Linked DNA regions of Homo sapiens: all the other regions are linked to region 3. Evidence: promoter capture Hi-C in 16 types of primary human blood cells and fetal thymus (Javierre and others, 2016). All regions are on one chromosome and are shown on one strand. The core of a region is centred on a gene start or on the middle of the fragment in contact, and the rest is flanking DNA. Distances in the headings are between cores, read along the strand shown.

Region 1 (2,700 bases), core at 81-2,580, 2.0 Mb after region 3:
CAGATTGAGTCTTTTTTATGCAAAAATGCTTGGATTTGAGGGGATTTTGGAATATTTGCATATACATAAATTATCCAGGAGATGGGACCCAAGCCTAAACGAAATTCATTTATGTTTCACATATACCTTATACACACAGCCTGAAGATTATTTCATACAATACTTTTAGTTATTTTGTGCATGAAAAAAAGTTTTGATTGCATTTTTGACTGCGACCTGGCAAATAAGATCAGGTGTGGAATTTTCCACTTGTGGCATCATGTCAGTGCGCAAAAAGTTTCAGATTTTGGAGCATTTCAAATTTTTGGATTAGAGATGCCCAACCTTACAGATGTTGTTTGGGTTATTCTATGAATGATTTCTGGCCAGTTTCTCAGGAAACACGCTCTACTACAGTATATTTTTTAATGAGTGAAAAAGAAATTAAGAATGGAGGGGAAAGTTTCAAACTGGAGAGACATCTTTGAGTAAAGTATCGTGGCTGAATGTTCCTACCTTTATTGACCATGTGACCTGGTTAAATCACTTAGGTTCTATTAGGCCTCAGTCTTCTCTTCTGTAAAATGAGATGTTTAGACCTAAGGACACCTTTCCAGTTCCCTTCCCGTTGGGACATTCTAGGATTCTGAGAGAGAAGCCCCCCTGGCCTCAAGATACCTCCACTCTCTTGGGTGTGCTCTAAGATGACTGCATTCATGTTAGAAGCATCTGAACTACGCCAGAGACAACCTACTGTAGATCTAAGGAAGAAAAAATGAATGGCAATGAATGCGAGAGGAAGGTGGGGGGGAAAGAAGCCCACGAAGATTAGAGATGGAAATGGCAACATAAACAGCATGCAAAGATAACCACTGACGGGTATCTAGCGTTTACGATGCAAATAAAACTCTGCTGGTCTCTGAGGATGCAGAAACAAGACATTGTTTTTGGTCTTAAGCCGTTCACAGAATGCCCGGGGGTTACACTTTGCATTTAAGCACGGACATATAACTTCCACCTTTAAAAGTCCTGGATGTGAGAAAGATAAGAACAACGGATAAATGAAAATATTAACAAAACGTCTGAGTATGCCAGAGGCCACGTGAAAAGACGGTGTGTGGAAACAGGTGGGACCCACTGCTAAGCTGGATGCGCGAGTAGGACAAAAAAATTGGCCCCCACTCCCGGGCCTCACCCAGACACAAAAGAAACGTCCTCTGCCCTCAGAGGCGCAGCCTTTCCTCAGCCAGCAGAGCGGCTGGGCTGCAGAGTCCCCGCCCCCGGCCGGCCCCTGTCGCCCGCGCCTCCCTCCCTCGGGCCTCGGAAGTGACGCAAGCGCCCCCCCACCGCCGCTAGATCCGCTGCTGCTGCCGCGGCGGGCAGACCTGCAGGAGGCGGCGGCGGCGGCGGCGGCCGAGGCTGAAGGAAGATGGCGGACGGCGTGGACCACATAGACATTTACGCGGATGTCGGCGAAGAGTTCAACCAGGTACGTGAGAGCCCAGGTCCCCGCCGCCGACGCGGGCGGCGCTGCGGCCGGGAAGCTGACCCGGGGCCCGCTGCGGCCGCGAGCCGAAGCGACTGCAGAGTGTGCGCCCTTGCCGCCTCTGGGCCGCGCCGCCGACCCCTGGCGTGGCGCCCCCCCGCCCCTCGTTCTACCGCGTCGTTTCACGGGCCGCGGGCGCGGCGAGTCGCCGCGGGGCCCGGAGCGCGGACGCGGGCCGCTGTGCAGCTGCCGCCGGCTCCTCCCTCGCCGGCGCTGCCTCGCTCCCTATTGTTGGCGGCACCCGGCTGGCGCTTCCCGCCGCGCTAGGCCCGGGCGGTGGGGCCGCGTGTAAGCGGCGGAGAGAACTGGCCGCCGCCGCGCCCCCTCCCCCGTCGCTGGTCGGAGGAGGAAGCCCTGGCGGGGCGCGTGCCCGCCGCCGCCGCCCCTTCCCCGCCGCTGCCGCTCGGGCTCCGATTCCTCCCATCGCTCCATTTTGTCTCCCTGCCCGCGCACTGTCGCCTCATGGAAGGCCGCGTTCACGGCCCTTTGTATCCCGCGCGCCCAGTCCCCGGGGCTCTCCTTCTCGGGTTTGCGACAGGTTTCGGCGTGGCGCCTTCCTCCTCCCCTCACACTTTCTGAAGGCGACTGAGGTGCGGGCTCATTTGCAACAAGTCCTTTGACTTTTGGAGCCACAGATAAAAGTCGGTGCGCTGGTCCTGCCTCATTAATCCAGGGCTTGCAGTGCTTTGAAGCCCAGTCGTTGTTGGCCTTTGTGATGAAAATACCTGTGAAGATGAGTGGCCGGGGACCAAAAGGAAGAATTGGAAGCGCGATGGTTGGATGGAACAAAAAGATGTTAGCTCACCCACAGATCTCATAGTGATTAAAATGAAAGAACGTTCACCCCAAATCCTTATGATGTGGTTTAAAAATAAAGAGTTATAGATAAGACCCTATTTTCGAAAACAAAGTGTTAAATCCCCCCACCCCCACCCCCGGGCCCCGTGTTACCTTTTGAAAGGTTGAGCGAAAGTGAGAATGCAAGGTTTTCCTGAACGACGTTGCTTAGAGGTAACGCGGGGCTGTGATGTCTGTTAATGGGCATCCTTGCAAAAGATGTCGTTTGTTGCTAGTGACGTTTAAGGTTTGAACCTGCTGTTCGTATCTACTGCATTTTATGTAGTAACACATTTAAAACAATTAAATTGTGCTTAACTGCAATGTTCCTAAAAGCC
Region 2 (2,700 bases), core at 35-2,534, 1.1 Mb after region 3:
TAGAATGGCTATTAGCCTGCTCAACTTACCTAATTGATCTGATCTAAGTCCAGCCCATGGGTACTTTCGCCCCACGGAGGAATTACAAGACTCGGACAAATAAGACTTTTTCCACAGGAAGTTCCTCTGGTATTCACTCAGCCCCTGTAATGCAAAGTACACTTTTGAGTACAGTCCAATTAATGAATGATGTTTTAAAGCAGACATCGGTGAAAAATAATTTCTGAACCTCCCAAAAGAGACTTAAGACTGAAAATTAAACACAGACGAGCTCCTTAATAAGAGCTAATATTCACCCAGCCCTGTGCTAAGCAGTTCACACGTGTTATATCCTTTAATCCACAACACCACTTGAGGCAGATGCTACCAGGAATTCCAGGCTCAGAGGTTACCCTTTCACTGATTATCTGATTCCAAAGCATGAGTTCTTGTCGGATAACTAATGACAATCTAAATTCTCATCATTCTAGATTTATCGCAGGTTTTCACCGAGTACACAATATTATGTACCATGCCTAGGACCTTTTGCTATTTGATAAAGTCAACAAAAGGCAAACTCCCCTTCCATTCTGAATACACGCCTTTAAGATAAATGAGTCAGGAGATGTGGGACGCTGTGGCCACCTGTGAAGTTGCAGGGTGCTAGTCCCTGACAGCTACCAGCTACCTGGAACTTTTAACATACGCTAAGAATGCACAACGATGAAAAACGTGTATTTCTTTATACGCTGTCTTTACTAAGAACCCATTTCTCAAGCCTTTAAAAGCCACATACACTAAAGTTTTAAAGGTAATGGGGGTTAAATGCTAAGCTAAATGGGCCACAGGTGTCCCAATCTGAAGTCGCCTTTAGTTCTCTTCGCAAAGGGACCTCCTCCCATCTCCACTCCTCTTGAGTCCCCCTAAGTAAATGTGTCTCGCACCATCTGACTCTTCGACACACTGCAGCTTGCAAATGTGAGTGAGCGGAGAGGGAACTAGGTTAAGAGGCGGCGGGCAGATTCTGGGGCCCCTCGAGCAGGCCCTGGGGCTGGCAGCTTCCGCCGGGCAGAGGGCTGCAGCGCAGAAAAGCAGCGTGACCTCGGCGCTCCACACCTCCCCGGCCATGGCTCCCCCCAGCCACATTCCGGCCCGGGGACCCCAGCCTCACCTTGAAGCGCACCGGCATGTCGCCCGGCGCCGGAGCCCCCGCTACTCCGACAGTTAACTGGAGAAAAAGCTCCGAGGGGGCGGGGCGATAACAGTGTTCCCTAGCAAAGCCTCGGCCCGGCGTCCCCGACTACGCGCCGGCGCACTCCGCGCTTCCCGCCTAGAGGCCTGTCGGTCTGTTTTTCCCCGCCCTTTTTGGAGCCTAGGGACCAATAGAGACTCGCAGAGTGCCTTACCTCCATTAGGATTTGACCAATGAGTGGCCGAAAGGGAGCCGCCTACCTCCCTTGCCAAATCCCTGGGGCTGATAGAGATGGCGGGCGGAAGGCCGGCCAATAAGGCTCCCGGAACCGGGCTGGGCGGGACCCCGGGGGTGCCTTCCTGGGTTGGGTGGACCGGTCCCTGGTTCGCCGGGTCCTGCGCAGCAATGCGTCTGCTTGCTGGTGGAATTCGCCAGCCGCCAGCCTCGCTGGCCCAGGTGCTTGACAGCATCAAAGGTCAAAGTGTGTTCTTCATGCTAACATCTATGAGAAAACCGAACGCTTCTTTTTCTGAAAGTGCTCAGATTTATTCTGCTGAATATCGGTTCGTACAAACGACAGCCGCATTACAGTTTATTGTCACATCAAAAGGGAAAGGCCAAAAAAATATATAACTTAGGCAAGATTTTTGAAACTTTATTGAAACTCGAAAGACAAACTGCTGTCTCTTCCTCCAGTGATGTTCTTCCTCCTTCAATCTCTACCTTCCCCAAAATGATGTACATACAGCCCTTAGATGAGAAAACGTTTATTGAAGATGGTTGTCTCAACTTCCAAACCTTCAGCCTTGTCTCTCCGCTCAACCTTTTTTTAAAAATAAAACTTCATCTGATTTTAATCGACTATTGCCATCATCGTCGATAAATGTTTCTTGACAGAATACTGCTGATTCTGAGAATTGGGAAAGAAAGAAATTGTCCAGATAGTTCTCTGATATACTTGGGAAGGACATACATCTTTATTTATTTATTTATTCATTATTTATTCAATAATGGTGTAATGTGACATGTGCTAAATTTCTAAATGAAAGGTGTCAATAATAAGGGCTACAGGATCTGGGAGCAGGGAGTCATTTCGGACGGCAGAAGATGCGTCAGGAGGAAATATTCAGACTGAAAGGACTGCAATAAGTAAAAAGTGGGACGATGAAAGGGCAGATGTCTGAATGGAATGCTGCCAGGCTTCTTCCAGGAACAACAAATGAGTGCCTTTTACATTTGTCATGTGTTGACTGAATAAAAGTATACCACTCTTAAACTTTCAAATATCAACACCAATCCTTGATGCTTCCCTTTAAGCATTTTCCGCAAAAGCTGTCTTCCTGAATCCTGATTGATGTCTTTGTTCTTCATCATCATCGAGATACTTAAAAATCATTTGAAGAAGCCACCTGATATCTGGAACAAAGAGCATATTAAATTAGTCCCAATGCAGCCATGCATCCAGGGGGCCCTTGATTAATGTTAATTGGTGATGACAGCATCTCTGTCGTGTAAATTAAGAATGGCAC
Region 3 (2,700 bases), core at 189-2,688:
GATTAAATTGATATACTGGCTTATTAAAATAATCAATGACCACAAAACCACGTATTACTTTAAAAAATATTTCTACCTAGGCAGCTCTTAAATGTATTTAAAACTTAAAAATCATTTCGCTAATGGTAAAAATTTTAGTATTGTAACTTTTTGGAGGTGACATGTTTGTTTTGTGTGTTTTAGATTTGTGTAGTTCTAGGGCCAAAATTAAGATTCTTGGGGGAAATAAAGGTTTTGTGTTGTTTTACGGATTGGAATGCCGTTTGATTTTTGGGGCTTTGCTTGCTTCCAATTCAAGTAATGGATGAGGTGTGTGGCGTGATTTCCTCCCCATTGCTGTCAGTTTGGCTCATCCTGTAAAGGTGGTAAATTTCATTCTGATTGTGGTCAATTTCAGTCTGAAGGTAGCACTTTATAATAATACAATTTTGTTCAACTAGTCATTCTCCTGTATAAGTTTAGAAAGGCTAAAGAAATTATGTGGTGATACCATACATGTGATTATTGACTGAAGCTTGCTTTCTTAAATTTCCTGTGAAAGAAAGATAACATGTACATACCTAGTTGTTTTTTTCTTAAATAAATTACATGAAAGAAATAGTGCTCTGATACTAAATGACAGTCACTGCTGAATTTGGTAAAGATTATGTATGAATTTTGGTTGTACTGAATCAAAACAATTCCTGGAGGATTAGTGTAATATTGATATATTCCTAATAGTTGGTGAATGCTAAACAAGGTATATTTAGGAGCAGTACGTGATTTCCAGTAATTTGGCATCATTAAGATATTTTTATCAACTGTCTTCTAAAAAACATTTTTATAATGCGCTGTAGCCATCTAGTTAATAAACAAGTCTTTGGAACTAAAGCACTTTATATGTTTAGTTTAAACAGACATTTAATAATTAATTAGTGAGCGTTTGGAGTCAAGAATTTTGAAATTTTTTCTGCATATTTTTAGTATAGGCATTTATTTTAATTTGCTCTTTTTTAAAAAAATGATGCCTTGTTCTCATTAGAAGTTTATTTATTTTGGCTTAAATACCAAGATTTGTGGCTACATATTTTAAAAATACCTAGCACTAGAAGGATCTTGAGGGCAAGGTTAACATTATGGAATGACCAACATGTGCAAAGCACTCTGCCTGTACTAAGGACGAGAGAAGAAACAAATGCTGCCAAAATGAAGAGCAAATTTTATTATCCTCATGGTAGAATCCAAAGAGAATTTGACCTAGTCACAAGATCTGGGTTCTAATCATGTGTGATTCTTTGTTATGAACTGTAAGATCTTATGCAAGCTATTTAATTTGAGATTACATTTTCACTTCTGAGAGGCATGGACATGACTAATTACAAAAGGTTGTTATAGGCATAAAATTTCAGGTCTATTTATATAATTACATAGTTCATTAATACAGAGAAGGTAAAGAAATGAATGCAGGCTTAAAAATTTGGAAATTTCTGCATTTTAAAAGAATCTTTTTGTAGGACTATTAAGGCTCAATTTATTGAAAAATTGTAATATTTCTTTTGTGTTTTAGTATTGTGCATTATTTAAAAATGAGATATTAAGACTTAGGAGAAATGGGGAAGCATTAGGATGAGAAATGCTGAGATTAGGAACTCTGCCATATGCAGGGTTTTTGTTGTTGTTGTTGTTTTGGTTTTTTTTGTTTGTTTTTTTGAGATGGAGTCTTTTCTGTCGCCAGGCTGTAGTGCAGGGGCGCCATCTCAGCTCACTTCAACCTCCGCCTCCCAGGTTCAAGCAACTCCCTTGCCTCAGCCTCCCAAGTAGCTGGGATTACAGGCACACACCACCACGCCTGGCTAATTTTTTGTATTTTAGTCAAGACGGGGTTTCACCATGTTCGCCAGCATGGTCTCGATCTTCTAACCTCGTGATCCACCCGCCTGGGCCTCCCAGAGTGCTGGGATTACAGGCCAGCACCGCATCCACCCATGCAGGGTTTTTTGTTTGTTTGTTTTAAAAAAAGGAGACTAGGAGCTCTTTTATTAAAAAAAGGAGGAGGCATTTGTGTGTCTTAATTACTAGGATAGTGCCTGTTACTTACTAGCCTCGGTTTAGTGAAAAGTTATTAATGAATGCCAATTCAAATAAAACCTTCAGAAGAAAAATGAAGAAACATTCCTTGGGACAGTACCTTAGAACAGTGCTTCTCATCACTTCCTCCCTAAAAGAAACACTTCTGGAGTGTACTGAGACTTTTTGCCAGAAAACATTTGTACCAGTGTATATAGTTATTTTAAGGACCTCTAGGGATGCATGTTCCATAAAGGAATAAAGAGTAAACCTTATAATGTAGCCAATAGATAGGGGATTCGGTTGATACCAGAGTGAAAGCTTTAATGTGGATGAACCATGTGACACTCCATTTGTGAATATTAATATTGAATATTTGGTAGGTTGAGGTAACTAAGTTCTTTTCTTTTTTTTTTTTTTTTTTAGAGATAGGGTCTCGCTCTGTCACCCACGCTGGAGTGCAGTGGCACCACCTCAACTCACTGCAGCTTCAACCTCCTGGGCTCAAGCGATTTTCTTCCCACCTCAGCCCCCAGAGTAGCTGGGACTACAGGTGCGCACCACCACACTCAGCTAATTTTTTTTATAGAGATGGGTATCACCATGTTTCCCAGGCTGGTCTCAAACTCTTGATTTCCGGCAATCTGCCCACCT
Region 4 (2,700 bases), core at 174-2,673, 1.4 Mb after region 3:
GCCTGTGGTCCCAGCAACCTCAGGTACTAGGGAGGCTGAGGTAGGAGGATTGCTGGAGCCCAGGAGGTCAAGGCTGCAGTGAGCCGTGACTGTGCCACTGCACGTAAGCCGGGACAATAGGACAAGATCCTGTCTCAAAAAAAAAAAAAACAAAGAAAGAAGGAAGGAAGGAAACATAATTTAAAAAATCAAGTCCAAAAAAAAGCAAGCAAGAAGTAAAAAAAAAAAGCTCAGCACTGTCACAAGAAATATATGGCAAGAAAAGCTGGCAATTTCTATATACCTGTGAAACCCAAATTGTCACTTGCCTTAAGGATCAAATGTATCAATGGTGTGAGCCCAAAACTCTGTTGCAACTTCTTCACTTTCCCCAGATCTTCAATGGCAGCTTTGTTAAACTCAACAAGGCTTCAGTTAACACGCTGAGGATTGTGGAACCATATATCACATGGAGTACCTGAACCTGAAATCAGTAAATGAACTGATCTACAAATTGGTTATGGCAAAATCAATAAACAAATTACCTTAACAGATAACGCTTTGATTGCTAGATTTCCTGATAAATATGGCATCATCTGACTGGAGAATCTGATTCATGAGATCTATGCTGTTGAAAAACTCAAGTTCCTGTGATCCTTCAAATTATCTTCTCCACGAGGGAGAATGAAGGACTACCTATTTTGTATTAATAAAAGGTATAAATGCCAGCAACAGAAAAGACTATATCAACAGGCTTATTAAACGGATAAACTGAAGCATCTAACATTATTTTTGTAATCTGGTCAGTTAATAGCCAGTCACTACTTTCAAACTGGAAAAAACAAAAACCAAAACAAAAATGTGACTGACTCCTTCAAGACCAAAATACACCACTTTTTGCCTAGACGGCACTTTGAAATAGAGGGCAATACCATCATATTTCACGCTTGCCTTTCTACTTTTTAATACAGGTGAACTTTTTCTCCTTAATAGGAAAGAACACCAAGTAAAGAACAAATAGCAGTTATGGAAAATAGTTGCAAAAACTGCAGGGGGCTACAGAACAAAGGACTGAGTGTAGGCAGAGAGATAGAGATCCCCGAGGTGTGGGGCAGAGCCCACGCATCTGAATTCCAAGAACAGGCGCTTTCTGACAGAGAATACCAGGAAATGACTTCACATTTTTCCAGACTATCAACATACTTCATTCTTCCCAGTAGGAGAACCCAGGGCCTGTTCCACGCCCACAGACTTTGGTCAGGCAAAGCGGCCGCAGGGCGTCTGGGCTAAACGCAACCAGGAACACATTGGCAAACTTTTGCGCCTGCGCCCACCGGGCGTGCACCTGTAGGCTGAAGTCGCGCATGCGCTAGATGGGAACGTTGTTTCTTCTCCCCTACCCCTTTTCTGTGGGTCTGTTTTAGGGACAGACTGCTTCCGGGTCGAAGGGCTTGCTTCCGGAGAGCGGGAAGGCTAAAACGCGGTAGCTAAACTGCAGCCAACTTTGGTTGTGTGTGGAAAAGGCTTTAGCCATGGACAGGTCAGTACTGATGGTGGCAGCTGAGCCCGAAGTCTTGCCCGTCTCGCCTGTTGGCGAAACGAAATAGGTGAAACTAGACTCCCAGAAGAAGCCAAGGAGGTCCCGGGTGCTTCCCCTAAGGCTCCTTCCCCATGCCGGGAAATTTGGCCACAAATGGGGAAAAAGCCGCTTGGCGTGCGTCGGGGTGGGGTACAGATCATAATAGTCCCTTACTTTCCCACTACGTTCTGCGATCTATTCGGCGCTTTGGGGCAGCAACACTGTTCGCTCCTGGGGTGGGCGGGGTAGGTAGCGCGGCGTTCGAAATGCTAAGTGACCAGCCTGAGATCACAAAGCCAGTCAGTGAAGATACTGGGATCTCAGCCCAGACTTTCTGATTACAAGTGCCAGCATCAGATTCTGAGTTCCCTCTATGATCTGGGTACTGTGCTAGCCGCCTACAACAAAGATCAGTTATTCAAGATCCTTCCCCTCGGGGAATTAGTTGTGTAATGGAGACAACCAAGCAGTGTAAAGTGGTAAGTGTTTGGGGGCGATTAAGTCTCCTTGTCACTGTAACTATCAGGAAGACCCCTCAAAGAAGGTAACTTTCTAGCTGGTCTTTGAATAATAAGAGTACATTATTCGTACTCCAAACATTGAGTACCTACTATGTGACTGCCATTGTTCTAAAGGCGTTGAATATATATTATTAGCTTATTTAATCTTCAGAACAAGAAAAATCCTATGAGATGGGTACTGTTATCCTTTTTTCATATATAACACTGAGACTAAAAGAGGTTAAGGAACTTGCTGAAAGTTCGGAAGCTAATAAATACAAGAACCAAATTGCCAACCTGCATCTGTGTGTCTCCAGCCTACCTGAGGCTCTTTGAGGAGTAAGTAGTTGTTGACCAGGTGCTCAAGGGGGCAAATGTAGGTCTTTGTAAAAGAAGCATATTCAGAGGTGCTAGGATATGAAAAAAAAGTACGTGTAGCTCAGTGGTCACATGCAGTATACGTTTAAAGTGATGTTTGTGGCTGAATAGAAGACTGAACCCCTAAACTGGGGTCACATTGTAAATATCATTTTAGGAAATTTTTACTTCTATAGACCAGAGAGCTATCTGAAGGTTTTTTTTTTTGTTTTTAATTTTAATTGTTAAACGTTTAAAATTGTTTCTATGTGGTTGTTTCCCATA

Evidence for each region. The method cuts DNA at HindIII sites, captures the fragments that hold promoters and counts their contacts. A CHiCAGO score of 5 or more calls a contact.
Region 1: the fragment with the promoter of CPSF6 here is called in contact with a fragment that was not itself captured in region 3 in 1 of 17 cell types (fetal thymus); the score reaches 6.8 in fetal thymus.
Region 2: a contact is called between the fragment with the promoter of MDM1 here and a fragment that was not itself captured in region 3, in 4 of 17 cell types (total B cells, naive B cells, naive CD4 T cells and 1 more). The highest score is 7.2, in total B cells.
Region 4: the fragment with the promoter of NUP107 here is called in contact with a fragment that was not itself captured in region 3 in 1 of 17 cell types (fetal thymus); the score reaches 6.6 in fetal thymus.

Annotation. Positions count from the first base shown.
Region 1 is chr12:69,238,239-69,240,938 of GRCh38, forward strand. It overlaps CPSF6 (cleavage and polyadenylation specific factor 6), which reads left to right and starts at 1,331. Exons shown (of 10, transcript NM_007007.3): 1 at 1,331-1,468. The coding sequence starts at 1,409. RefSeq lists silencers at 1,154-1,653, 1,804-2,023 and enhancers at 1,487-2,067, 2,068-2,647. The HindIII fragment of the contact is 17,360 bases long and covers 1-2,700 here.
Region 2 is chr12:68,331,078-68,333,777 of GRCh38, forward strand. MDM1 (Mdm1 nuclear protein) reads right to left here and starts at 1,285. Exons shown (of 15, transcript NM_001354969.2): 1 at 1,151-1,285; 2 at 30-144. The coding sequence starts at 1,168. LOC105369819 (a long non-coding RNA gene) reads left to right here and starts at 1,554. Exons shown (of 3, transcript XR_945057.3): 1 at 1,554-2,700. RefSeq lists an enhancer at 836-925 and a silencer at 1,226-1,485. The HindIII fragment of the contact is 10,890 bases long and covers 1-2,700 here.
Region 3 is chr12:67,271,028-67,273,727 of GRCh38, forward strand. The region is part of intron 1 of CAND1 (cullin associated and neddylation dissociated 1); the gene reads left to right. Among named protein-coding and RNA genes, the nearest start is that of CAND1, 3.0 kb to the left of the region's middle. The HindIII fragment of the contact is 1,853 bases long and covers 513-2,365 here.
Region 4 is chr12:68,685,555-68,688,254 of GRCh38, forward strand. NUP107 (nucleoporin 107) reads left to right here and starts at 1,424. Exons shown (of 28, transcript NM_020401.4): 1 at 1,424-1,519. The coding sequence starts at 1,512. It overlaps LOC100507250 (a long non-coding RNA gene), which reads right to left and starts at 1,305. Exons shown (of 3, transcript NR_038930.1): 1 at 1,183-1,305; 2 at 309-463. It also overlaps the pseudogene RPL7P42. The HindIII fragment of the contact is 6,312 bases long and covers 1-2,700 here.